6 separate regions of the Homo sapiens genome follow, and regions 1, 3, 4, 5 and 6 are each linked to region 2. Evidence: promoter capture Hi-C in human tissues and cell types (Jung and others, 2019). All regions are on one chromosome and are shown on one strand. The core of a region is centred on a gene start or on the middle of the fragment in contact, and the rest is flanking DNA. Distances in the headings are between cores, read along the strand shown.

What was found. Contacts are between HindIII fragments. The study calls those that stand out against the background at their distance.
Region 1: a fragment that was not itself captured here is called in contact with the fragment with the promoter of SFRP2 in region 2 in 1 of the 25 tissues and cell types used here (mesendoderm cells).
Region 3: a fragment that was not itself captured here is called in contact with the fragment with the promoter of SFRP2 in region 2 in 1 of the 25 tissues and cell types used here (H1 embryonic stem cells).
Region 4: a fragment that was not itself captured here is called in contact with the fragment with the promoter of SFRP2 in region 2 in 1 of the 25 tissues and cell types used here (bladder).
Region 5: a fragment that was not itself captured here is called in contact with the fragment with the promoter of SFRP2 in region 2 in 3 of the 25 tissues and cell types used here (mesendoderm cells, neural progenitor cells and thymus).
Region 6: a contact is called between a fragment that was not itself captured here and the fragment with the promoter of SFRP2 in region 2, in 1 of the 25 tissues and cell types used here (thymus).

The regions. Positions count from the first base shown.
Region 1 is chr4:154,138,404-154,142,762 of GRCh38, reverse strand. LOC101927947 (a long non-coding RNA gene) reads right to left here. Exons shown (of 15, transcript XR_007058336.1): 10 at 521-647. Among named protein-coding and RNA genes, the nearest start is that of DCHS2, 350 kb to the left of the region's middle. The HindIII fragment of the contact is 3,059 bases long and covers 1,190-4,248 here.
Region 2 is chr4:153,786,599-153,791,580 of GRCh38, reverse strand. SFRP2 (secreted frizzled related protein 2) reads left to right here and starts at 2,498. Exons shown (of 3, transcript NM_003013.3): 1 at 2,498-3,247. The coding sequence starts at 2,746. RefSeq lists enhancers at 436-605, 867-1,568, 1,569-2,270, 2,185-2,354. The HindIII fragment of the contact is 9,313 bases long and covers 1-4,982 here.
Region 3 is chr4:154,084,253-154,089,071 of GRCh38, reverse strand. All of the region lies in intron 9 of LOC101927947 (a long non-coding RNA gene), which reads right to left. Among named protein-coding and RNA genes, the nearest start is that of SFRP2, 300 kb to the right of the region's middle. The HindIII fragment of the contact is 4,955 bases long and covers 868-4,819 here.
Region 4 is chr4:154,161,769-154,166,368 of GRCh38, reverse strand. All of the region lies in intron 10 of LOC101927947 (a long non-coding RNA gene), which reads right to left. Among named protein-coding and RNA genes, the nearest start is that of DCHS2, 330 kb to the left of the region's middle. The HindIII fragment of the contact is 3,975 bases long and covers 1-3,793 here.
Region 5 is chr4:154,187,388-154,192,286 of GRCh38, reverse strand. All of the region lies in intron 10 of LOC101927947 (a long non-coding RNA gene), which reads right to left. Among named protein-coding and RNA genes, the nearest start is that of DCHS2, 300 kb to the left of the region's middle. RefSeq lists a silencer at 2,644-2,844. The HindIII fragment of the contact is 4,243 bases long and covers 83-4,325 here.
Region 6 is chr4:154,104,502-154,109,151 of GRCh38, reverse strand. All of the region lies in intron 9 of LOC101927947 (a long non-coding RNA gene), which reads right to left. Among named protein-coding and RNA genes, the nearest start is that of SFRP2, 320 kb to the right of the region's middle. The HindIII fragment of the contact is 4,768 bases long and covers 893-4,650 here.

The sequences.
Region 1 (4,359 bases), core at 1,470-3,969, 350 kb before region 2:
CTAAAGGAAGAGTGTTTGTTTCTGTAGCACTTTGAATTTCCATGGCTTGTAATACAGTTTTCAATAAATAAGGATAGTAATTGTGGCCAGATACAGTGGCTTCTGGCTGAAGTGGCCTTGTCATCTCTCAGTGTTTTTTGCGAGAAGACCGATATATAGACAATATTATCTTTTCTAGATTATTCAGAATTACAGAATAAGCTTTAAGTGAGAACAGAATTTCAAATTTAGATGATAATTTTTGCCCACTAATCAATAAGGTGGAAAAAGAGGACAAAAACTTTGAAAATAACTAAAACCCAAAACTGAGGCATTCAGGCCTCTGTCCATAAGGATTCCATCTCTCAGTGAATCAAAACCTTACCCTTGAAGGTCAAAGTTTTCATACCAACCAAGATAAATAAAACTATTAATTTTTTTTCAAAACATCTGTTAGAAATATCACTCCACATACCTGCTGCTTTTAAAAAATCCAGTCTTAAAAATGGAAAATAAAATTTAATACTGTGTTATTACTTACAGTTGTAATTGGCAGAGTTTCTAGCTGCCTTCTGAATTTTCAAGCACCACCCAGACTTGTTTTTCTTTCAAAAAGGATTTTTCCCTTAAGGTGTTATGAAGATCTCCAAGTAGAATTGCACGCAGTCCTGTGAAGGATAGATGTTATTTTTTTCACCTCCAGTTTGATTTTTTTAATGCTAACTTTGTAATTTGCCACAAAGAAAAGGTTCTGTATATAATATTGGTATTCTGTTATAGGATTTACACCACACATATTTGTATGGGCCTGTGCCTGGGAATCTTACCTAAATCCTTTATCCCTGCAGTTCCCACTGAGGACTTTATCTTTAGATCCAAAGTGCTAGAAAATCTTCTGTGATATTTAAACTTTTAGTCTGTAAAGCTGCTAATGTTGATAATAATGCAGATATATAAGAAAAAGCCAAGCAGAGTTTTAAAAATATTTTTGAGAGACCCAAACTATTTCTAGAAGTCTCAGCGGACTTTCATTAATCCATTCAACAAATATATGATGAGCACCATTTGTTTGCCAGACACTGTTTTGGACAACAGAAAAAACAGAAGTGAACAAGACAAGATTCAGCTCCGCCCTTGTGAAATGATTTTTTTGCAATGGAGTCAGACCTTATACCACCAGTTTGAACAATAACTCATTAAACTTTGAATGAGTTCTCCTTATTAAGTACTTCAAAGAGAAGTATGAAAGTTTATCTGGAAGATTAAACTTGGAGAAATGGATGTTTGAGCTTAGTGCCACCCATGGCCCCAGGCAAGAGTCACCACAACCAGCACTTCAAAGAAGCCCACACCTCCATTCTAGACCAGGCTCGGGGTGCCCTGTACCTCTGAATTACTGAAAGCACCTCAAGCCTCTTCCCTGGGTCTATCATGCCAGTGGGAACTAAGACAAATAGGTACACCCCAAGGCTTCAGGGTGATGACCAAGAGAGTTTGCTTGCAATGTGTGTATGTGTGGATTTTGACGTACACACTGGGATATTCACAAGCTCTTCCTTTCATGATGAGAGGAGCCAAGGATGGGGAAAGTAGAAAGATGAGGCTTCGGCCACAAGTCAGGAGTCCCTGTTCTTACACCACAGCACTCCCATGTGAAACTGCATGGAATCTGAGAAGTCTAAATTCTGTCTATAGCATGTGTTTCCATTTGCATTCTTGCTTCCAGCCCTAAAAATGTTAGGGGTGGGGCCATCTGATCTGGGCTTTGCAAGACAAGTTGAAACTAAGCAAGAAGAAAGCCTCTACACAGGAGGCCCACACGTGTCAGGGCTCTGAGGTAGAGAGAAAATGATGTGTCTGAGGAACTGAGAGGCACACAGAGAGGCTTGACTAAAGAGCAGTACAGGGCCAGAAGAAAAGCCTCCCCTGCAGGACAGCCTTAGGAAGCAGCATATTTTATGCCCATAAATGAAGGTCTCCATAGCATATTTTTGAGTAGGTGTGAAAAATTATAAAAAGATTTGCATTGCTATGCTGTAATTTCAACATAATATGTACAAAAAATTGAGACAGATGTTTTTAAAATACTTTTCTTTCAAATTCTGAATGATCAGCATCCCGTTATCACAGTTCTTTTGGACAAATACCATAAATAGGATGGCTTATAAACAACAGAAATTTATTCACAGTTTTGGAAGCTTAGAAGTCCAAGATTAAGATGCCAGCATACTCAGTGTCTAGTGAGGACTCACTTCCTGGTTCGCAGATGGCACCTTGTCACTGTGTCCTTGTGGTGGAAGACACAAACACTTCCTGCTTCTTTTATAAGGACACTCATTCCATTTAGGGCGGGTCTCCTCCCATGACCCAATCATGTCCCAAAAAGGCCCCATCTCTTAATATCATCAATTTGTGGATGAGGATTTCAACACATGAATTTTGGGGAACACGCATGCAGACCATAGCACCCATTATCTTCGTATTCCTATGAAATGTGAACAGTCATTTCCCATGTCCCCCGAGTCTCAGGCCTAGGATGTGGGGTCTGTTCCCCTCCACTACTCCAGCTGTTTTTACATTGAACAAATATTCATAATATTCATTCATCTCTTTACTCATTTAATTCAGCCATAGTTTATTAAGCTGCAATATAGGAATGATAATATATTAATAGAGAGGTGGGAAGGATGAAATAAATTTTTATATGTGTATGTGTATATATATTTATATATAAATTTCTACATAAATATTTAATGTTTAATATTTTAATTTATCAATATTTTAATACTTAATATTTATAAAGATATATAAATAAATTTATAATGTATATAGTATAATTTTTATATAATATTGTTTTATATTATATATTTTAAAATTGTATATAATTACATATATTAACATATACATTTATACATAATATATGTGAACATATAAATTATATTATATAAATTCTCATATGTAAATTATATATAATATATATTTTATATAATATAATTATATATTATACATTTATATGGAAATTATGTATGATTTATAGGTTATTTATATAATTTTATATAAATTATAAGTTTATATATAAGCAAATTTATTTTTATATAAATATACATATTTACACACACACATATATATTGCTTAGAACAGCACTAGGAAACCACTAGGCACACAATAGGATGATATGCACCAATTAGCAGGAAAATTCTTAAGAACAAGAATTACTTGTTCTTAAGACCAGAAAGGAAAAGACAGCTACACTACTTGACCAAAGGGATGAAGGCATGGAGTAGAATGCTGTGTTAGGGAAGAATGAGCCATCAGTGTGACAAAGAATGGCTGGGTCTAGTGTTGGGAGATGGGCCTGATAGGAATGAGATTAAGGAGGGACTTGGATCCCATGCTAAGGAGTTGGGCTTTTATTCAGCAGGGCAGTGTTTCTCAAAGTGTGGCCCTCGGACATTAGAATCCCCTGTGTGGCTTCTTAAAAATGAGGACCCCTGCCTCCTATTCTCCACCCCAATAATGAGTTGGAATGTAAGGCCTGGGACATTTTAACAGGCTTTCCAGGTGATTCTTGTTTATAGTCATGGTTGAGATACTGAGATACCATGAAGAGTCAAAGTATGTTTTCTAAACATATAGTTTGTACAATAAGCTTTGTCTTAGACAAGTGGCTGGCTATACCCATACATACTATGGGCAGTAGCAAGAAAGCTCCTCTTCCAGAAGAAAAACATGTATTTGTTACAGAAGTGTGAGTTTCCCTTTAAGAAAATAAATTCGTGTAAGATGCTTGTTGCCAGATATGTTAAGCCAAAGGGGAAAAAAATCTCAAAGCAAATACACTTTTTGCTAGCAAAATATGTTCCCTCATTGTTCCCTAAGATTCTGACATTTGAGGGAAAAAAGATACTAAATTCTCCTAGAAATAATAAGACTTGTTGGTTTTTCTCTATTATGCAATACAGACCTCTAACCTAAATTAACCTCAAGGTTAATTTACACTTTAGGTAATAGAAATTACAAAACAATGGCTGGAATGAAAAATGATAATGTTTCACATTTCTATGAGTTAATTTCAATGAAAATGCAACATTATCAAACCTTCTTTAAGAGATGCATCATCCTAAAATGTTATATATTGCTCAATACAAGCTCCTGTGTTTAATATTTTTACAGTTTTACGATTTCCTTCCCCATGAGCTTGACTATTTAATAAAGAATTAAAGACATTTTGCTAAAACCTAAACATATCACAAAGTTCTTTGTTAATTATTACCCTTTGTAAGATGGATCATCACCTTTCATAATATGGAATATGTATAAAAACATACATTTTCAAAGTGTGTTTAACAATATGGGACTTTTACAAATTATAAGAATTTA
Region 2 (4,982 bases), core at 1,249-3,748:
ACTGGCAGCAGAGAAGAGTCTGGGTTCGTGAAGGCGCCGCCGCGGTGCCGCGCCACGTGTGAGCATCCCAGGGACCAGTCTGGGGAGGCGCGCTGGGATGGGCACCCAGTGTCCCATCCCTGCGCTGCTCATATGGGCAGAGCTCCGTGCCCGCGTCCCAGCCTCCGCGGGAGGTTATTGCCCTGTTCCCCAGTGATCAATTGGACCGGTCTTAGCCCAAAAGCAGAAGGGAGTGGGGAGAGCGACTTGAGGTGGGAAAGGCAGCAGCAGCGAGTGCAGGGTCGGGACCAGACTAAGTGGCGTGGGTTCCGGGAGGAGCAGCGATGGGCCGCAGGGGACGCCGCGGGCCGGGCAAACAAGCTGGCCAGAGGTGGACACTGCGCACGGCAGGGATGGAGACTCAGGCGCGACTCCCAGCACCTCCTGGCGGCAAGCCGGGCAGCGAGGGCTCCCAAAACAATGCAGCCGGCGCGCGGAGCGCGGGGGCCGCCAGCCACTTCCGGGCGTGCGGCAGCGCGGGGCTCAAACCAGCCAGACCAGCTTCGGGCTCCTTGAACTCCCAACAAGGGGCTCTGCGGGGAGGAGGCGACCCCAGCGGAGGGCGTTGGGGATTTAGGGGTTGGCCGGGGCCGGCGGGGGGTTGGGGGGGCGTGAAAGCGAGAGGGCCCTTATCCCACTCCCAGGCCCAAGTCGTAGCATCTCTCAGAGCTCACGCTCTTTATTAGCTCTTTCTTTTGGTGTGCTTCTGTTTCCTTTGTGGTTTCATTGCAAAGTAGTTTATGTTGGGAAGGGGGCTTTTAGGCCTCTTGGTGCTTTCGTTAGAGACGAAAAGGCCCTGAACCAATTTGGGGAAAGAGAGGCCTTTTGCAGCTACCCCGGGCCCTTCCCCAGCAGAGCACCCGGAAGCTGGGCTCTTAGGGACGCAGATTCTTGGAGTTCAGAATGTGCATTCTCTCCAGATGACGATTTTCCTGGCGTGTTTACGGTCAGCAGATAACACTGAGTGGGCTTTTGCCACCCATTCATTCATTACCCGGCTCCTCTAAGCAGCTGGACCGCAAAGTGTGCCTGATAACTTGGGCCTGGGAGCCGCCAAGGCCAACGCATCTTCCGGAAGGAGGGAAATTAGGAAGCCGGGGTCTGAGCCTGTGAATGACTCTTAAGTGGTCGGGAAGTAATAACAATGCGCCCACCTTACATATGAAAGAACTTCGCCCTCCGGGGATTATCTCTTTGGATCTTCACAGCCACCCGGAGACAGCGGCTGAGGAGAGCGAAGGCCTCCTGTCCCCATAGGGAGACTAGGGACAATTAGGCAAAAGGAGCCCACCCCCCAACCCAGAACTTACTGTTTGCAGTCAGAGACACTAGATCCCAGGCTCCACGAGAGCAGAGGCCGGCCTGTTTGTTCATTTCTGCACATCCAGCGCCCAGCATGGTGCCCCCTGGTACGTAGGGGATGAATGAGCTAATTCTAGCCCTCGTGGATCTCTAGGCAGGACTCCTTCCTCTACCTCGCTCCCTCCCAGCCTGCCCATCTTTTGTGCCCGTCTTTTGTGCCGGCCACCAGTCTTTACAAACAGTGCCCTGGGGGCCCATACTCCAGCTTTCCAGAGCGCACAGCTGCAAGGGCGGCTGTGTGTTAGAGCCCGTGATGCCTTCGAGTATTGAGTCATGCCATTCATTTAAGAAGGAAAAATCTCTCCAAAACGGGGAAATGGTGGGCAGTCCTGTGTGACTGGTGAGACTCTTGTAGGGGCGTTTCTACAACGACGAAACCCTTCCTAGGCACTCACTCCAACAGAATAACAAGCCCATTTTATTAGTATTTCGTTTTCCATGTAAAGTTCTGCTCATACGAATATATTTATAATTCTGATTTTTTTACGGCATTGGGGAGCACACCGACAGGCTGCTGAACGGTGGCTGGAGATTCGAGGGAAAACGAAGTTCGCCGAGGCGGCCTCGGGCGGGCAGGTCCCGGGCTCCATCACAGGGCACACGCGGCTACCAGGGACGCAGCCCCCCAACACACACACACACACACACACACACACACACACACACACACACACCCTCTCCCACTCATGCCTGGCAACCCAGCAGAAACTTCGGACTGGGGCAAAACAAGCCCGGGCCCCGGCGGCACGCGGGGCTAGGCGCGTTCCCGCCAGTACCTGGTCGCGAGGCCGCTCGCGGGGTGCCCTGCGTGCCCCCCACTCCCGCAGCCCGCGCCCTGCTCGCTCACTGTGGGGGCGCAGCGGCCAGGCTTCTCTGTTTGTTGTTTAAAGAAATCCTAGGGCGGGCGAGCGGCGGCATCTAGGGGAGGGGGCGCAGCCAGAATTCCCTTCCAGCAAGCGCGTGAGGGGCATTCTCAACGCAAAACCAGACCCAGAAAGTAGTGACCAGCCCTCCTCGGATTACCCTTCATTGGCTCCTCCCTTGCTCCCCCCACCCTCCAGATTTGCATAAAAAAGGCCAAGAAAACTCTGGCTGTGCCCCAGCAACGGCTCATTCTGCTCCCCCGGGTCGGAGCCCCCCGGAGCTGCGCGCGGGCTTGCAGCGCCTCGCCCGCGCTGTCCTCCCGGTGTCCCGCTTCTCCGCGCCCCAGCCGCCGGCTGCCAGCTTTTCGGGGCCCCGAGTCGCACCCAGCGAAGAGAGCGGGCCCGGGACAAGCTCGAACTCCGGCCGCCTCGCCCTTCCCCGGCTCCGCTCCCTCTGCCCCCTCGGGGTCGCGCGCCCACGATGCTGCAGGGCCCTGGCTCGCTGCTGCTGCTCTTCCTCGCCTCGCACTGCTGCCTGGGCTCGGCGCGCGGGCTCTTCCTCTTTGGCCAGCCCGACTTCTCCTACAAGCGCAGCAATTGCAAGCCCATCCCTGCCAACCTGCAGCTGTGCCACGGCATCGAATACCAGAACATGCGGCTGCCCAACCTGCTGGGCCACGAGACCATGAAGGAGGTGCTGGAGCAGGCCGGCGCTTGGATCCCGCTGGTCATGAAGCAGTGCCACCCGGACACCAAGAAGTTCCTGTGCTCGCTCTTCGCCCCCGTCTGCCTCGATGACCTAGACGAGACCATCCAGCCATGCCACTCGCTCTGCGTGCAGGTGAAGGACCGCTGCGCCCCGGTCATGTCCGCCTTCGGCTTCCCCTGGCCCGACATGCTTGAGTGCGACCGTTTCCCCCAGGACAACGACCTTTGCATCCCCCTCGCTAGCAGCGACCACCTCCTGCCAGCCACCGAGGAAGGTAAGCCTTCCCTCTTGCTTCCCCACTCCCTGCTGGGCTGAGACGCTCCCAGGAGATCCCGCCCCTGCCACGCATCCCAGTGCATCCCTGCTTGGGGTGCCAGTAGCGGGAAGGGCAGAAGTTCTGCCTGACCTGGTCTGTCATCACAACAAGCCTGTATCAAATTTGAGGCACCCCTCCCACGCCGCCCAAGTCTCGCGCATTCTCCTCCCGAGTTGTACCAGCTATACTTAAGGGCAGTTTAAAAATAAAACAAACAAACAAAAACAACAAAACTAAAAAAACGAAGAACTGAACGGCGGTTTAAAAAAAAATAGATACACGATTATTGTTAAAGATGCTAGCACTGGAGCTGCGCAGAGCGTTGGAAGTGGTGTTTGGTGGAGGAGTTTGTGGTGAGCATTCTGGCCAGAGGCCCCTCGCTCAGCCTCATTCTGCACCTTCCTACCACTGGGCAGGATTCTAGTCACAGGAACATTTCCTGTACAGAAAGGAAAACCAGGATGCACAAGTAGATAACCTTTTAAGGGTCTTTTTGTCCTTTGTCAATTTAGATTTTGGAAATAAAACCGGGACTGGCACGGAGTGTGTGGAAAATTGAACATTGGTTGTAACTGCTCAGATACTTGAGGAAGAGGGCATAAAGGGAATCTCTGGAAATCACTTTTCTATTGCTATCAGTTTTTAACTTAGGAGTGGTTTTGATTAGCTGGAGAAAATCATGCAAAAGAGATTCCCAAGTTTTTAGAAAACGGAGGGAGAGTTCCTGTGCAAAAACCATCAAAGCAATGAAAACCTCATGGGCTCTCAATATTTTTTCTGAAAGGAAAACATATACAATGCCTCTGAGCTGATTTGGGTCCCCTGGGTTGGAAAAGGGAGCTTCCTAATCCCTTTCAGGGCTTCAGCAGCCTCTCCCTTTCAATCTCTAGTAGTTTTCCTACAGACATCATTAGTTAAAGCAAATGCAAAGTTCTTTAGCAATCTTTCCTGGCAGGGACCATGAGTTTGCAATCATCTTATTGGTTAGATTTCTAATTTATTGCAAATGTTTGGCATTTTTCAAACATTTGTCCAACATGTACCATAGACCAACCAATACAGGTTAGTAATATTTTATATACATCCTGAGAGCTCCTAATTGGAAATGTTTGATTTTGTTTGGGTGAGGGGACTTAAGGGCAGTTTTATGTATGTTGCTTTTATTTCTTCCCACTATCAGCAGCAACATTACGCATCTTACATTTCTCCAAAAAGCCACTTTTCTCCTTCAAAATAAAAGTTTATGTTCTTCAAAATTCCAGCTTTGTGATTTTTCTAATTTGATAAATAACGCTTCTATTAAGTCACATAGTTTTCTATGAACATTAAATTTCACATTAGTGAAAATCTCATTTCACCTAAATTTTAAAGACATAATTAACACATTTATAAATGAGAGAAGGGCAATATAATTGTTCTTTTTTTTTTTTTTTTACTTCTCCCAAGAAATCAAACTCTTAGAAGAGCTTTTAGCAGGTCTTCTGATAATTGTGCTAGTATACAATCCCTAAGTTTGATCAGACCACTAAACCATTTTTGCTTCGTCTTTGATTAGCTTCAGAAACAGGTTTATTTATTTGTTTGTTTTGAGAGTTTGAAACAGGCACAGAAGGGCAAGAAGAACCTGTACCAGGGAGCTTGCAGATAACAATGAAATGAATGCTGCCTAACTCAAGCACAATCTTGGCAGAGG
Region 3 (4,819 bases), core at 2,096-4,595, 300 kb before region 2:
TGGACTGGCTCTAATAGCTGCATCATACTGTTCTCCTGATGAACATAATTTCACACTGCACCAACAGCATGTGACCTTTATCTGTAACCATGATGAAGTAAAACAAACACAGGACCACTCTGTAAACATGTCTGAGCACAGACAAAAATAAAAACGCTGTGCAAACCACAAAGAGCCAAATATGAGTGACTTCAACTTCCTTGCTGACTATAGTGTTTGTTAACCTACTCTGTTCTCCTACCTCCTAAGATAAAAACTTGTAATATAATTATAGAATTCCCCTTCTTCCACTTCCTCCCAATCCACACATCCTCGAACCCTACCCAAAATACCCAACACAAGCTAATCCTAACGAGCCCCTGTAACAGCCTCTTACTGCTATGGTTTTCAGCAGCCTCCCTTGCTACAGCAAAATCCACAAATCTAACTTTTAGAATAGGTGTGTTTCTTGTGGTATTTGGCCAAAGATGGTCATTGACATAAGTTGTATGCATGGAGCATGTGTTCCTTTTGCAATTAAAGATAAAAATATTTAAAATTGAATAATCTCCATCCATTAATATGTCAAGTGACTTCAACCTCCAGAAAAAAGGTGGACTCTCAGCTACCTACCACTGGGCTCTTGCATTCACAACCAGCCAGTCCACCAACCTGCCACAGGAGCTGAGGTCCTCAGGTGTCATCGGCTTTGAGGACCATCAAAGGCATTGCAGGCACATGCAAAACAGTGTTTCTCAAAAGCAATACTAGTGATATTTGGGCCAGACAATTCTTTTTGTGGGACTGTCCTATATATTGTAGGATGTTTAGCAGCATCTCTGACCACTACCTACTTGATGCAAGTAGGACCCCTCTTGTGACAACAAAAAATGTCTCCAGACAATGTCCCCTAAGAGGGAGGAAGGGAAAAAATTGCTCCCAGTTGAGAATCATGAATGCAAAGGAGGCCGGTGAAAAGAGGAAAGATATTGCATAAGTTATTAGAAGGACTGGGGATGGTCTTCTCCCTCCCTGGGCCATGGATTCTTCATCCTTGAAAATGGAGGTAGTCAGTTCTGCCTACCTCATGGAAATAGTAAGAAGAAGGGATAGAAAAGATAGAAATAGGCTTGAAAGTAGCTAAAGAGATAACTATTTAGTCAGTAAAGATGTATCAAATGCCTACTGAGTGCTAGATATAGAGAAAGGGTATTCTAATACCATCAAAGAGTACAAACTGAAAGCATGCAAAGGCCCTAAGTCTGATTGTATGTACACAGGAAAATGACAAAATGGAGTTATTATGGATCGTTTAAAATAGCAAAACATAGCAATCGTTATAACGATGTATTCAGAAATAGTCATATAACTAAGGCAAATTTTTGTAATTTGGATTTGTCCAATGTAGCTTAGTAGGGAGAACCAATTTTCATCTAAGAAATAAGAATCAAATTATTTCTTCTGAAATCAGTCCTTCAGAGAGTGTTCTTAATTTTGGCTTCAATTTTAATGCAGAACTGCAAACTCCATTCAGGTATCTCTGAGTCATTCTTGACTGATTTTTTTGAATGGGTAGAAGGTGGGAAGAAAATAAGCAAAGAGAAATGTAACACAATATGTTCATGTGTGCTTATATGCTGGGAACAATCTTCTTTGGAGCTTCTAAATGAGTAAGAATAACAGGACAACAGTCAAAAATGGAGAAATATAGAGTCACAACATAATAATTTGAATAGCTTTTAAGTAACAGTAGCATAAGACCAAAATTACTACATGGAAAGATGACTGAATGCAAGTGGCATAGTTTACAGTATAAGCTCCATAGGACACTTTAAAAAGATATTCTAAACAATAAAATTTAGCCTCAAAATTTTAACAAAATATTCTCTTTCTAAATACAATGGGTTTTTTGTTTGTTTGTTTGTTTGTTTTTTAATTTATTTTTTTTTTAGACGCAGTCTTGCTCTGTCGTTCAGGATGGAGTGCAATGGTGCAATCTCGGCTCACTTCAACCTCTGCCACCTGAGTTCAAGTGATTCTCCTGCCTCAGCCTCCCGAGCCACTGGGATTACAGGCACCCACCGCTGCACCCAGCTAATATTTGTATTTTTAGTAGAAGCGGGGTTTCGCCATGTTGGCCAGGCTGGTTTCGAACTCCTGACCTCAGGTTATCCGCCCGCCTCGGCCTCCCAAAGTGCTGGGATTACAGGTGTGAGCCAGCACGCCCAGCCGGGTTTTGTTGTTGTTGTTGTTGTTGTTTTTCTGAAAAATAGAAATCAGCTATTTCCATTTATACATATTTTATTGAAATGTGCTGTGAGGGACCTTTTTAACCACCCTCAAACAACCAAATGGAAGACTTGCCCTTCTTTGCAAAGGATGAGATGTTTCTTATCTCACTTTTTAAAATGTAGAAACAGGGCTGATCCGGGGTTATAAAACAAGCTTTCACAAAACTGAGAAGCCAAGATTAAAATCTTTCTCCTGCATGGTAATTTAATGCAATAGTTACTATAGGAAAACAAGACAGTTAAAAAATGGATTCAAGTGTTGAAAGATGTTACATTGGGATGTGTAAAGGAATCCAGGGATAACCTGATCTCAGTAGATAACTGTTTGAGCTTTGGGGGTTTTATTTACATTGTGGTGAATCAGAAAAAAAACCTTTGGGAAACGGCTTCGTGACTACCTAGTATAGCCTTTAACAGAGCTTAAGACAACACAGGCTTCTAGCTCCTCCCAGCTCCCACCTCAGCTCCACAACTCACAGAAACTGCTCCCCAGTACAGGAACCTGATATCAGTACTCCTTTTTCCTTCCTGCCAAAGCGTCCCATTTTCCCATACAAAAGTATCTGGCAAAATTATAAAATAAATGAAATAAAGAGAAAATGATCCGGGATAATTTCAAGACACTGAAAGGTTTACACAGGGAAAGAGGAAATTTTATCATTTGATGTTTGCATCTAAGTAGAAAACTTTACACAATCATCTGACCCAGTTTTATCATCTTTCCTTTGTCTTTTTTTTTTTTTTTTTTAAGAAATATTCCTGCTGGCAAATAAGCCTTTTTGGTCAGTATTGTAGACAGTAGGCTATGCCTATCTTCCTTCAGAAAGTTGCACTTGATGCTTCATAGATACTTTAATACACGATTGTTTTCAGCACTGATACATTTCACTTTGTTTATTTCTATTTCCAATAAAAGATAATGAAAAGTAAGGAAACGTGCTATTAAAGTTGCATCCTTGTGCTACTACTTGACTCAATCTTTACATCTAGATGCTCACATGGCGTGCCCATTTACTATGGTGCTGCACCATCATGCTGAGGCAATCGGGACTTAGGATGTCTAAAGGATGGGTTCCTCATCATGGGGTGATTAAATAATGGGGAGAGGGAGCCCAAGCCTCTAGGAGGAGGAAAATGCCCACAAAATAGGAGATTCTTGCATACTTGGAGATGTTTAAGCGTCTATCTGCTACTTGGAAAGCCACTTTCCACCCTGGAACTACCTGGCACTTAATATACATGAAGTGTGGGTGTTCCACTCTTCTAATATTTCAGATAAAGGTGGTTGAGACCTTTTAGCAGCTTGTAATTTTTTGTAATTTTAATCATTCACAGTAACATGGACTTCACTAGACTGTTGATTATCAAACTGTCTACACATTTGAATAGCCTGGAGAGCTTTTTTAAAAAGTACCTATGCCTGTGCCCCAGAAATCCTGATTTAGTTAGTCTGGTGTGGGCCTTTGGCATCTGTATTTTTTGGGAACTTCTCAGGTGATCCTAATGTTCATCCAACATTGAGAACTGCTGGATTAGACTCTGTCTCTCTCTCTGATCTACTGAACCAGAAGTTCTTGGAAGAAATCCCTGGCAATATGTGTTTCCCAAGCACACTCTCAGTGCTCTGATTTCAGCAAAAAATTTCCAAATTCAATATTTATTAGGTTTTCTCTATAACCCTGTGCAGTGGACTATGAAGATGCTTTCTCCCTTATGCAGATGATGAATCAGTGGCTCAGAGAGGTTAGATGATTCACCCAAGTTCACCTGGCCAGAACTGACAGCCTGGGCCAGGACTTCTGACTCAGTAACCTTCATCCTGCTCCTGCTGAATGCATAGAATGTCAACTACATAGGTGTAGTTTGGGTCTCACTGTTGACTAGGTGCTTAATAAGTCTTCATGCTTTCATGATATTTCCGAGTCTTCTTTGTTGACAGATGGCAGAGATTTCTTTTGTTCTAATAAAAGTGTCTCAAATTGTGCATCCCCTTAACATTTCCTAGTCCCCTTCCATACTTTATTTTTCTTCTCCGCCCCATCTAGCATACCTTATATTTTACCATTGTTTATTTGGCTTCTGAGTCTGTAAATGACTTTACTGTCCCCCATGGCTTCCGCACAATGCTAGAGGAGTCGCTTGGGCTTCTCTCTCTTCGATAGAGGCCCTGGAAACCTCCACTTGGAAGAGCCCACTCAGTGCTACACAAGCCCCAACCCCAGCAAGCTGGGGCCCTGGAGCAGCAGCCGCTGGCCCCCTAACTACAGTCATTGTGCTCTTATTGTATGCAGAATATTGTGAGATTGGCAGGCAGCAAGACCTACAGGTAAGTCCCTACCCTGTTAGTTTGTCTGATTTATTGTGTCTCTAGCACTAGGTATTTTTAATGTTATTCACTCTTTTATTCCCAGAATCTAGAGGCAGTCCTTAGGATACAGCTTTTGAATGAATAAGTGGTTGAGACAATGGAAGCTCCTTCATCTCTAGTTAACAGGCTATGTCTAGGCCTCTTGGTTCTTCCTAGGAACAGTCCTGTGTTATTTCCTAAA
Region 4 (4,600 bases), core at 557-3,056, 380 kb before region 2:
GAACTTCGCTCACCCATTTCTTTCTCTCTCATTGACTCCTTTTATGACTTCATCACTTCCTCTTGTCATCTAGCCATGTAAAAGAAGGAGCTCCTTTGGGCATTGTGCTGAGAATGTCTCTCTTTGTGTCCCCTCCCCAGCCCTACTATTTTTCTGCTCATCACCCCATTCATTCTCATAGTGTTGGCCTTACAGATATAAACTCCAATTAGATCTTGTCAATGAGACTTGGGGCCTCAATAGGGTGCTCTTGAGTAATATGTGTTGACTCCTAAATCACTTATATATTTATTTACTTTACAAGATGATGTTTATATGGTTTTTGGTTTTTGTTGGTTTTTGATATTTTTTTTTTCTTTTGAGACAGGGTCTTGATCTGCCACCTAGGCTGGAGTGCAGTGGTGCAATCATGGCTCACTGCATCCTCAAACTCCTGGGCTCAAGCGTTCTTCTTGCCTCAGCCTTCTGAGTAGCTGGGACTACAGGTATGCACTACTGCACCCAGCTAATTTTTGTGTATTTCTTTTCTTTTTTTTTTTTTTTTTTGGCAGATACAGGCTTTCACCATATTGCACAAGCTGATCTGAAACTCCTGGGCTCAAGCCATCCACCCACCTCCACCTTCCAAAGTGCTGGGATTTATAGGCATGAGTCACTGTGCCAGGCCATATATGGTGTTTTGCTTATATGTTTTCAATTTTAAGGTACCCAAGGGCAAGCACCATGCATAACTAACTTTCCACATTTCAAAAATGATGATGGTGGTGATTTTAAAGCTTCCTCTTTCTTACCTTGTTGACTCTCACAGTGTCATCTGAAGGGGCCATTTCTCCTGGTTACCCTAGCTTTTTACCAGTGACTTGGTCTCTTCCTGTAGTGGCAACACACGTGAAGCCAGTCAGAAAGAAACAGTGCTTCTCTAGCAGCATGAATCAGCAGCCACAAGTTTGCATTTTGGAAATAGTTTTGGCAGTGAGGGAAATTATCCTGAGTTAATTGGTGCTGTTATCTCTAAGTGGAAAGAAGGAGTCATCTGAGGGTGGGGTGGGGCAGAATGAAATCAGTGGAGGGCTAGCAATTAGGCCAACTCAGCAGCAGCATGGGAAAGGTTAGAAACAAATATTCTGCTGAAATTGAATGTAACTTAGAGCCAGAAAATTCCTGGGAAACCACATTAGCCAAACCTCTCATTTCACAGATAAGAGGCCCAGAGAGGTTGTTATTTCATCTCTGATTTAAACAAGTAAGTCAACAGCAGAACCACAGCAGGACTCTACAGCTCCAGTTCCTAGTCCAGGGCTTTCAGCTTCACCACTCTGCCTCAAGATGCTTCCATTGCATGGTCTGCTCAGGATTAGCAAGTGGGTCTTCTCTGTGGGGACTTTTTGACTCTTGAGAATTAAAAAAAAAAAAAGCATTATCAACCAAAGACTCAGCAATATATATATATACACAGAAAATCAACAAGGGCAACATCTTTTCAGAGGCCAAGTGGTCTAAATTGATGTAGACTTTCTCTTCAACCAGAGTCTTAATGTATCCTACATGAGGCGATGTATGTGTTGATTTGGGTATCTTCCCAGCCTCACAGATCATCGAACTTTGCCTTCATTCTTACACATCAGTCCACTCCCAGGGCCACAGTCCAGATACCAGCCACTACCAGGAATTGTCTGTCAAAGTCAGTTCAGACTGCTATGACAAAATACTATACACTGGGTAGGTTGTAAATAAGAGAAATATTTCTTACAGTTCTGGAGGCTATAATGTCCAAGATTAAGGTGCCAGCAGTTTCCGTGTTTGCCATTGGCCTGCTTTTTGCCTCATAGGTCATGCCTTTTAGCTGTGTCCTCACATGGTGAAAGGGAGCAAGGGAACTCTCTGGGGCCTCTTTCGTCAGGACACTAACCCCATTCATGAAGGCCCCACCCTCGTGATCTAATCACCTCCCAAGAACCCCATCCTCTAATATCATCACCTTGATGATTAGGTTTTCAGCACACGAATTTTGAGGGGACACAAACATTCAGACCCTAGCATATTCTCTTAGCAAAATTTCACTCTCCAATCTCTACTTCTAATTCTTCCACTTCTCACACTCTAACTATGTCTGTACTGTGACATTTCCACTCTCATCATGCCTCCCTATACCCTCTCAAATTCCTCTTGGTTTCAATTTTCTCACCCAGCTTGGACCATACAGTCAATAATTTCAGCCATGTCTTTGCAACATCTTTGTCTCCCACCTTCCTGATTCCTGGGTGTTGGGTCCAGCAAATCCTTCTGATGTGGTTTGTATCTCTGTTCCCACCCAAATCTCATGTTGAATTGTAATTCTCAGCCCTGGTGGAGGAGCCTCACGGGAGGGGATTTGATCATGGTGGTGGAGTTCTCATGAATGGCTTAGCACCAGCTCCCCTTGGTACTGTATGGTGAGTGAGTTCTCAAGAGATCTGGTTGTTTAAAAGTGTGTAGCAGCAGCGTGGGAAAGGTTAGACACAACTATTCTGCTGAAACTGAATATGATTTAGAGCCAGAGACTTTCTGGGAAACCAGGAATTTCCCGCTTTCTCTTCCTCCTGTTTCTGCCACGTAAGACAGGCTTGCCTCTCCTTCACCTTCCACCATGATTGTAAGTTTCCTGAGGTCTCCCCAGAAGCCAAGCAAATGCCAGAATCATGTTTCCTGTACAGTTGCAGAATTGTGAGCCAATTAAACCTTGTTTCTTTACAAATTACTCAGTCTCGGGTATTTCTTTATAGCAATGAGAGAACAGACTAATACACCTTACTTAATCCTATCACATTCATTTTTTCTGCTCCTGACATGTTGAGCTCAGTTGAATAAAATGACAACATTGTAACAATTAGCCACTAGTGTACATTTGTCATTTCCACTCTCACATGGGCCTTCATTACAGCTCAATATTTTTATTCTCATCCTATTTCTTATTTCCTGTATACCAGCAATATCAGAGCTCTCAAATTATCTCTTCCATTTGACTCACGTGACTTTCAGAAATGGCCACATTTCCCAGGACACTAAACAAAAAAGGGCCCATTGATGTACACTCCTCCAACTTCCACCTTCCCACCTCCAATAAACACATCACCACCCTTACCTTCTTTAACCTTCTCTAAAACCTACAGAGCTATTTAGATATAAATACCTGTGACTTTCCCCTTTCACCCGCATCCTCTTTTCCTATTGATTGTACAGAAACTTTAAAAATAATCATTTTACTGGGAGAAACTAAACTTCCCTCTTTCCCTCTTTGTACTTGCTAATCAAATGTCTTTGCTTAATTTTCTCTAGTTACACACACACACACACACAGAGAAAGAAATACACACACAGAGAGACACATACACACGTGAATTTAAGTTCATATGAGCCCATGAAATTAGTGCCTTTATTTAGTAATAAATCATCTTAATAGTAATAAATCATCTTAATATTTAGTAATAAATCATCTTAATAGAGCTCAGGGAAAAATAAGTACTGGTGCATGCTAGATTTGGTCATGGTGTTTCTACACACCCTCCCAGTAGGCAGTTTGTAGTAGTTCCATCAGTAATGAAATGCCAATTATCAGCAGTTAACAGCACATACTTAACCTGCTGATATCACATGAAGTGGGAGTTTTCCAAGATCTCAATCTTTTTATTTCCAAAATTTCTAAATTAGCAAGCCTACTCTGGGGCTACTTTATAAGGTATTTATGATACCTAGGAGCCCCAAGTATGTTTCCCAGAATTCATTTTAACTAAGCAACAACTAGCTGTACACATGATATTTTCCCCGTAAACACCATTTCTGCTAAGAGAAATTAGACATTTGCAGATCAGAAGAATTGACATGCTGATGGTCCCGGATCCTGGCAGAAACACACTCTATGTTTCTCTTAGGATGGTTGAGAAAAATACAAAGGTATGACATCCCACAAAGGAACCTCAGTATTTGCCCCTCCTTATCAGCTAAACTTAAGTGTTCACTTAATTACCTCTTGACTTACATCTAGGTTGTCATTAAGCAAAAAACAAAATAAACAAACAAACAAAAAAGATTATAAGGAGATCCATTGTACTTCATACTTTGGCTAAATCTCAGCTTTTTCAGTTTAGATATTTTCAAACCCCAGACTGATGGCCACTGTGATGTTGTCTTTCATAAATTTGGAGAATACACAAACTCAGACTTCCTAAGCCTTCCCTAGGCAGTTGGTCCTGACCCTGGAGGCCCTTAATCTGCAGAGAGGAATAGAATAGAGGGCATAAGGGCTTTCGTTATTATGCTTGATCATGACTTGTACATATTACCCTTGGCATGTGACATGGTGTCCACAGCTGTAATTCTTTCTTAAATTTGTTTGGAGCTAGTGGATGATGGCCCCTGAGCCAGGCTGGGCTGACCCCCATGAATGGTGCCTTTTTGCAGAGTTATTTTGCCCGGTGTCAGAAATAACTTTACGTAACTCATTATTCTTTTTTACTGAGTATAAATAAAGTTGCATGTCATCTGATAGTTTATGAAGTAATGCACACATGCTCTTAATATGGTGAGCAACAGCACACGGCTTAGAGAAACTTAAACATTCAAT
Region 5 (4,899 bases), core at 955-3,454, 400 kb before region 2:
GATAGATGATTTGACTATTTCTTTACCTCCTGATTTTAGCCTAATTGGTATTTTAGTGAGCCCTCTTTACTACCTGATTGGTCAGGTGTGAGCTGAGTTACAAGCCCCTGTTTAAAGGTGAGTGTGGTCACCTTCCCCAACCAGGCTTAGGAATTCTTAGTCGGCCTAGGAAATCCAGCTAGTCCTGTCTCTCATTTTCACCAAACTGTTTTTTGTTCTGGAAAATATAGTTAATTTTCTTAAATATATCTTATGTTAATATGAAAAGTGCTTATTACTGTTATTATAAATAAATTAATACATATTTTTATTTAAATTCATCATTTTAATTTCTAATATAATTATCAACACATAGATTCCACAGAAACAAAAACTCTTTGGAGTCTCAACAGTTTTTAAGAGTGTTAAGCCATCCTTAGATCAAAAAGTTTGAGAATCACTGGCTAATACCACCACTGAAAGATAACTAAGCTGTGACCCACAGAGTTGAAATGGATTACCCAAAGTACCTACAACCTGGCAGAGCTCAGACACAAAGCCAGGATTTCCCACTCCAAATGTTTTAATAACACCGGTCTGACCCTCTCTCCATCCTAAGTGAAGCCTTTCTCTATTTCCCCATTCTGTCTGCCCAACTGTAGACACTATATCCAAAGGCACATTGTTTTTTGTTTGTATGCAAACTTATCTAATTTTAGTTATAAACAAGGGTCACAACTTGCCACCAGCCATGCTGCCCCACCCCTCTTCAACACAGATGACCTCTCCATCCTCACCTGGTTTGGAACTACTTTAAATATAACTCATTCTCCTCCTAGAAGCTCATAATTGGAAACAGACTTTGGATCTTTTCTCCATCTCCAGGGTGGTCCTCATTGAGCTCTTCCCTTGCACTACTATTTCAAATTCTGTTTCTCCTTTTTAATTCTTTTGCATGATACTGTGTTTGCATAAATCGAGGATTTCTATAAATGAGCTCTGGAAAGCTTAGCCTGTTTCAAGGTTATTTAGAGAGCAAAAGGAATGTGTCTTCATGTGTGGGGGCAGGAAAGATGGCACAACCCAGTCAGCTCACTCACTAGCAAACAATGTGTACACTTTGGGAAGCAAGGACATCATTGCTGTGGATGCCAGCGGACAACTTCATCCACTGGAGAAGTTTCTTTTGTCTTCAGTCGGTGCCTAGGGAAACAAGTGGAAAAGGACTAGAAAACAATTTCAAAGACAGATAGCACCAAATTACCTTCCTCTAAGATAAATAAAGGTTCATGCAAATATTGAGACTAATTGCTTAAAACTTGCAAACATCTGCAGAGGAAAATCAATTATCTAATTCATAAAATCACTGCTGAATTAGGAAAGATAGAGGGCATGTCTAATAGAGGTCTTCTCTACATTCCACTGTCCCAGGTACAATGCAATGTACCTAGTACATTGAAATCACTGCACACTTGGGCAATTTGGCCACCTCTGGCCTCAGACTTTGTTGCAGGTGGCTGGGGTGGTACCTCAGCATTTTGAGCAGTCACAGCTATTGGATAAATAGAACTGATCAATAGGTTCTCTCTGGTAAGTCCTACTTCCCACACAGGTAATGCATCTTACCAATAATACACCAAACATTCTTGATAATTCTTTGTAAATTTTTCCCTTTCTAATTTTCTTTAAGATTTTTTATTTGTTGTCTTTTATGTGAACACTTGATTAAAGGGAAATTCCTTGATAGGTTTGTGGGAGATCATGCCAGAAACGGTAGAAATTTGAACCAGTCCCCTGTTTATCCCTTCCAGAGTCTTCAGGATGGCTCGGGGACTGATTTCAGTAACGAAGTACCAACCTGGGGGATGTTTCATTGTCTGCTGTTAATTAATTTGTTTTCCCAATGTTTAGATTCTTCCTGGAGAATAAATTTTTAGCCAAGTGGTGAAGAGATTCTCATTATTTTACTCAGGACTTTGAAGATTGGGTGTACCTTAGCTGAGCTTCCACACTATCACCAAGACATGTGTAGAGAAACTTTTCTCTAGGGGCCACTTCTGCAGAGCACTGACGAATGGAATCAGGAAAAGAAAGGGAGGTTTGAGCTTCTGCACCTACCCTCTGCTAGAAAGGGTCATTTCCTCCTTCATATTTTCTGTTTTCCACTGGACTTTTCAGAGATGTTTTAAGAACCATTTATTGCTGTGAACATTGAACTAATGAAACAAAACAATGAAACTAAATGTTTAGAAATGTTTTTAACTATTTTTACACTTCATAGTCATCCATTGAGCCACAGATTGAGCAGCAATCAACTTGTGAACATAAGAAATTTCTAGGCAAACAATAAATTTCTGTGTACTCTATATCCTCATGCAAAAACAGGTGCCAGAAGAGGCACATATGAAAGCTGAATTACACAACACAGATCTCCTTCTGCAGAAAAGGACAGTAGTAGGAACAACTGGTGCTTCGTTTTCAAATCCAATTCTCATTTATCGTCACAGAATTATTGCACTATCCTGAAACGCAGAGTAACTCAAGACCATGTTCAAAAACAGATTTGACAGACAAAGGTAACTTGCCTTTGTTTTAAACATTTAATAAATGCCTCTGAGACTAACAAAGCTTCCCAGGCGGTCTGTGAGGAACACATGAGCCATATTGCAGGTAACTCCAAGGCAGCCGGCACAACTGCTTAAGGACTTTCCAAATAGCAAAATGCTGCTGATGGAAAATGTGACTCTCAGCACATTGGCATGTGGCTTCTGTGACTGTTATCCAAGGAGAGGAAATGAGACCAGAGTGGGGATGAGTTGGTTTCAGCAACCCTGCCTGGCCACACCTGTCAGATTGAATGACAGAGACTCTAAAATAAAATATTAATACCCATCTCCTGAAAAATAAGCTCACGTGACTTTAATGAATTCATTTTGACTTCTCTTTATCTCACACGGGGATAAAAGCAGTTAAAAACAAACAGTTTGATAATCCTGACAACGGGAAAAAGTAGCATTTTTCTCCCTTCAAACAAATCACTTTTTCTTTATGCATTTTCCTTCAAAATAGTTCTATGCTTTCTTCAGAAAGAATTACACATGACTTGAGATTCCAGTGTATTATTTGGGGTGGGAAAAGCTGGCAACTGAAGCATAAAGCGCCATGTTTTTGCAATTATCTCTCTTTGGCATCCCCCTCATGTGCTCCCTAGTGAAGAGGCAGAGCTGAAATGTGGGGCTGGTCGTCTAAGAAAGAATGTAGTAGTGCTAATGGTGAAAATGTGCTAATTTTAAAAGGTAGTAAAGAGCATCCACGATACAGTTCTGTAGACTCACTTCTTATTTCTCACAAAAATACAGCTGTTTTGCTGTTGATTTTAATGCTACTTAAGTCTATAAAAATATTTTATTCAGACTATAAATAGTTTTGCTCAAATTAGCTTTGGAGCTCAACTGCATTATGCTTCTGCCCTCAGAGGGCAACTTGGAAATAATGGTGAAAAGAATGTGACCTCCAAGATCATCTCATGGGAAAAACGGCATAGTCCAGGTGAGGTTTTCCTCTTCTTATTCTCTTCTATTTTGATACATGAGAAAACAGATGGGGTTTTAAGAATACAGAATGTATCTTTGTTCTTCTTTGCTAAGCTTGAATAGAATTGGTTAAGAATTAAAGAATTTATCAACAAATGAAAATAGCGTAGAACACATGTGTTGTTTTCTAATTAAAATATCTTAAAAATTAATAAACACCAAATGTAGAGGTCTAGATAGAGTCACGCACTAGCATGAACACACACACATACGTAAGTGTGGAGGCGCAGGAGTAGTTTTCTGGGGTGTGTGTGTTTACTCATTACTGCCTCAGAACTACAACAGATATGGTTATGCCAGTCAGGTGTGTAGATGCCTACATTTAACACGCGAGTCTAGTCCTTGAGATATTAAAGTATGGATAGGGAATACAATACCCTGTAGCCTTGTTTTCAAAGGGACATTGACCTTTTCCTTGGTGCTTTTGGGGTAGGAGTGAGGTTAACAAGAGCTGTTAGCTAACTTCTGGGTCTTGGTCTTGGAAATAAGGCCTGGTGGGGAGTTGGAATGGCAGAAGGTGTTGCCAGAGAGGTTTGAGAGCAAGGAAGTCAAAGAGGTGCACAGGAGCCACAGAGAACGGTGAAAGCCAGAAGTTAGTCCTTGGGATGAAGGTGAGGAAATGAGTTTGAGAAACTAGTACAAACTACATATTATAAATGGAAAACTGGGCCAAGGATCGGAAACCAAAGAGACTGGGTACAGATGAAAACTGTAGTATGATACGGATTAAAAATGGACTATGATTGCCGTAGGTTGCTTTTGCTGCTATCACAAAATCCTGAGACTGGGTAATTTATAAAGAATAGAAATTAATTTTTTGCATTTCTGGAGTCAGAGGAGGCCATGATCAAGGTGCTGACATTTTGTGTCTGGTGAGGGCCCTCTTGCAGCATCCTCACTCACATGGCAAAAGACAAAGGGCAGGAAAAGGGCACATTCTCTCCAAAGCCTCTTTTATAAAGGCATTAATCCATTCATGAGAGTGGAGTCTTTATTATTTAATTACTTCCCCAAGGCCCTACCTCTAAATAGCATCACAATGGGGACTAAGGTTGAACATAAATTTTGGAGGTGACATCATCATTTGAACCATGGCATTCCACCCCTGGCCCCCCAGAAATCCATAACCTTGTTACCTACAAAGTACATTCATTCCATTCAAATTGCCCCCAAAGTCTTAACTGTTTCCAGTATCAACTCAAATGTCTAAACTCTAGAACCTCATCTAAATCAGATATGGGTGAGATTCAAGGTACTCTTCATCCTGAAGCAAATTACTCTCCAGCTGTGAGCCTGTGAAATCAAACAATATGTGCTTCCAAAATAC
Region 6 (4,650 bases), core at 2,027-4,526, 320 kb before region 2:
TACACTGTGAGGGGAAAACCACCTACTGAAGCCTCAGTAATGGCAGATGCCCTTCCCCCCACCAACCTCAAGCATCCCAGGTTGACTTCAGACTGCTGTGCTGGCAGCGAGAATTTCAATCCTGTGGATCTTATCTTGCTGGGCTCCATGGGTGTGGGATCTGCTAAGCTAGACCACTTGGCTCCCTGGCTTCAGCCCCCTTTCCAGGGGAGTGAACAGTTCTGTCTCGCTGGTATTCCAGGTGCCACTGGGGTATGAAAAACAACTCCTGCAGCTAGCTCGGTGTCTGCTCAAATGGCCGTCCAGTTTGGTGCTTGAAACCCAGGGCCCTGGTGGTGTAGACACCTTAAGGAATCTCCTGGTCTGTTGGTTACAAAGACCATGGGAAAAGTAGTATCTGGGCCCAGAATGCACCATTCCTCATGGCACACTCCCTCATGGCTTCCCTTGGCTAGGAAAGGGAAATCCCCTACCCCTTGCATTTCCCAGGTGAGGCAACACCCCACCCTGCTTCAGCTTGCTCTCCATGGGCTGCACCCACTGAATAACCAGTCCCAATGAGATGAGCTGTGTACCTCAGTTGGAAATGCAGAAATCACCCAACTTCTGCGTTGATCTCACTGGGAGCTGCAGACTGGAGCTGTTCCTATTCCGCCATCTTGCCAGCCACCCAGAGTGATTTTATAAAGGCAACTATTAGCCTTATTTTTTGGCAGTGGGAATAGTCACAGTGCTAATGGTGTTCATACCTTTCTTTATATCCATGAAAATGTGTAAGTTGAACACTTATAAGAGGAAAACAACCATACTATAAATAAATGTATAACATATACATTAGTTTCCTGGGCTGCCATAGCACATTACCACAAAGTAAATGGCTTACAACAGCAGAAATTTATTCCCTCACAATTCTGGAAGCTAGAAGTCTGAAATTCAGTGTTGACAGGGTTGGTCTCTTATGGAAGTTCTGAGGGAGAATCTTTTCCATGCTCTCTTCTAGGTTCTGGTGGTCGCTGGTAACCCTTGATGTTCTTTGGCTAGGGGACACATCACTCCAATGACTGCTTTCATCTTCTCCTGGTGTCCTCTGCTTTGTGAGGAGGATTCACAAAGTGAGTGCTCTGTGTTTCCCTGAGTCCAAACATCCTCTAAGTCTAATGTCTAAAGACACTAGTCATTGGGTTAGTCCTCGCCGTAATCCAGTATGACCTCATATTAACCCAATTATATCTACAAAGACCCTATCTCCAAATAAGGTCACATTCACAGGTATAAGGGGTTAAGATTTTAAGATATCATCATGAGGAACACAATTTAACCCATAATAACCAGCATCTCCAAAACAGGGTATTTCCATTCAACCAAAATGCTAAAATTACCTTGTGTAAATGAAAGAACAAGTTTTGAAAAGTTATTATTTATGTTTCCACTGGGAATATTAAAATTTGTATCCACTTAATTTGAGAAACATTCATAATAGCAAGGTTTCATATATATGTGTATTATTTGTGGAGATACGCATGCACCCATCCACTTAACTCATATACACACAAACACACAATCTTATACCACACAGGCTTCTGCATGAGGGTGTGATGAGGCTTTACTGTCATGCTTCCCTAGCTGTGCATATGTACATGTGTACAAGCGGAGCATATCTAAATAATGTTCATCTGTCTTTGAACCCATTCCACAAATCACTGTCTGGCAGTGGAGAAATTAAGAAGATTCAGATTACAAAATTAATAAGATTCAGATTACAAAATTAATAAGATTCAGAGTACAAGTTTATTAAATGATGGTGGGTGAGTCATCAACAAACACATGTCAAGTAGTACTTTGTCCCCCCTCTCTTTTTGTTTCTTGAATTTGATGTTCACGGATGTTATGGCTAACTATTCACCTAACCTGTCTCTTCATCCTTGGCCCACACCTAGGTGACATTTCTTAGCCAGTTAGACAAAGCCATGGACCTGACTTCTACTCATCAGAATGTGAACAGAAGGAATATGTGCCACTTCCAGGCTTGGCTCATAAAAACCTGCAATGGATGCTCTTTCCTGGTGTTCCCTCCTTCCTCTGGATTGGCTCCGATGAGCAAAGCATCCTTTTGGAAGCTGTTTTGAAGATGGCAGAGCCATAAGGCAGAAGAAGCCTGAGTTTCTGAGTCACTAAGTGGCAATCATGAACACCCATATTAAGCTTTATTATGTCTAAGCCATTATATAATTTAGGGTTTGTTTGTCACATCACCTTGCACCACCTTAGTATAAATATGTGTGCTACAAACACAAATGGGGATTTAAGCTGGCATAAGTCAGCAGGAATGTGAGAATGACTGAAAAGTAATGTCATTATTATTTGATTGCAATGTTCTCCCTGCCTAACTAGTGCCTTGAAGCCTGTGCAGCTGATCATGCTCTTGAATGCCTTTCATCTTATTGCTGGCTTATGTACATGTGATACAAGGCCATGCATATTTCTCTCTTATTTCAAGCCTTTGACCTGTCTCCTTAACTACATAGTAAACTCGTTGAAGCCTTTTGCTTTGTCTGCTACTGCTCCTAGTTCAGAGTTCAGGACTATTGAATGCTCAATATATATTTATTTATCTGAGGGTAGACTGATTCTTTAAACAAAGCCAAGGGAAAATTTTACCAGCTAAATAATTTTTGGTGTATTTAATGACTTTTAAAACTAGTTTCAAGGCCATAAAGAAATTTAACCCATATGTATATTAATAAATATACTTACAGCATAAACATTAAAAACCATAAATACGATTAAAATCCATTTAAATTACTATTGGTCTCTTCATTTAAGGATATGAAAGAGGTTTTATTGAATTTTTCTCATAGCATTTTGAGAGAAAATGGGACATTCTTAGAAACAAATTTATTTTGAACTGAGACTTTCAATGTGTTTCTTGACACACCTAATGTATCAAATCACAGCTAAAATTAAATTAAAGGAGGAAAAACACCCATGCTATTTCTCAGGTTTAGACACAGTAAACAGGCTCACAAAACCAATGTCAGGCCATCTGTAAATTACTTCCCACATAAACTCTGTTTCACAATCTGGTCCTAAACTAATGAAAATGTAACTCAAGTCCAAGTCAGATTAACCTAAGTTTAACTGGCCTATATGAGAATCCATATGCAACATGTAAAACCATACAACTAAGAGACGAGAGACAAAAAGTGATAGAAGGTAAGGATTTTATCCTTGCAGTGGCTTTTGTCTATTTCTGCCCAGCTTCTGTGCATTTCTCTGGTAACATAATCTATCCCTTTGGCCTCATGAGAGTTCAGAAGACCAGGGCTAGCCCAGTTAGTGTATCCTCCTGTTCTCAGACGTGGAAGCCAGGATGACAATTGATGGTCAGTGATGGTCAGTTGCAACTGACCCTAACTAAGATCTGCCCTGAAATTTTTCCACCTAAGATTAATGGGACAGAACTTCTTTACTCTCCTGGTGGCAGAGTTGTTGGGTTGACTTGAGGGATTCCTGTTGCCCATCACGTGCCAAAGATGATGCAGAGGTAAGAGAGTGAAGTCAGCACAGACGAAAAGCAGATGCCAGACAGAAATGGAGAGAGGGAGCCTTGAGAGCATCAAGGGCCACCAGCATTGTCATTCCCGAGGCCAGTATTATCCTTTGTCCTGAGTTTGGTTTTATGAGCCTATAAATTCCCATTATTGAGTTAAAGCTAGCTTGTGTTAGATTTTTGTCACTTGAAACTAAAAGGCAGTCCTAAACCTGCAGTCCCTAAAGCTAATGTTGTCTTCCCACTCTGGCATGGGACCACTATAGTTGGTTTCTGTTAGTTGGATAATCTTCTGCCCTCAGTAATATCACTTTGGCTATTGATCTGACTCTATTTTTTCAAACTATTTTCCCACAAGACCTTAAAGGGTATATCTTGTATAACATATGCATAATAAATATTCTGAAAGATTAAGAATAATATACCTTGGTATCATGAAAATCTCATAAATATTTGTGCTTAATCTACCTAAAACTCTGGATATCAAAAGTGAACACTGGTCCTGGGAAAAACTGATTAAACTCTTGAATATTTTAGGGAGATATTTATGATTATGCATAAATATTTGTGCATAATCTACCATAAATAATTGTGCATAATCTACCTAAAATATTCTACTTCATGGTAGTCCATTTAACAAGATACTCCATTTAACAAACTAGCAAATGGTTTGCTACTTGATTCAGTAGAATTCTACCACTCTAGGAGACATCTTTATTGTTTTACTAAAACAATGCTTGGTTGGCATGTTTAAAAAAAGACACTTAGAATTCTGTGAAGAAAGTCATTGATAACTTGATGGGGATGGCATTGAATCTATAAATTACCTTAGGCAGTATGGCCATTTTGATCATATTGATTCTTCCTATCCATGAGCATGGAATGTTCTTCCATTTGTTTGTGTCCTCTTTTATTTCATCGAGCAGTGGTTTAAAGGTCATATGGAATCAAAAAAGAGCCTGCATTGCCAAAACAATCCTAAGCCAAAAGAACAAAGCTGGAGGCATCACACTACCTGACTTCAAACTATACTACAAGGCTACAGTAACCAAAACAGCATGGTACTGGTACCAAAACAGAGATATAGACCAATGGAACAG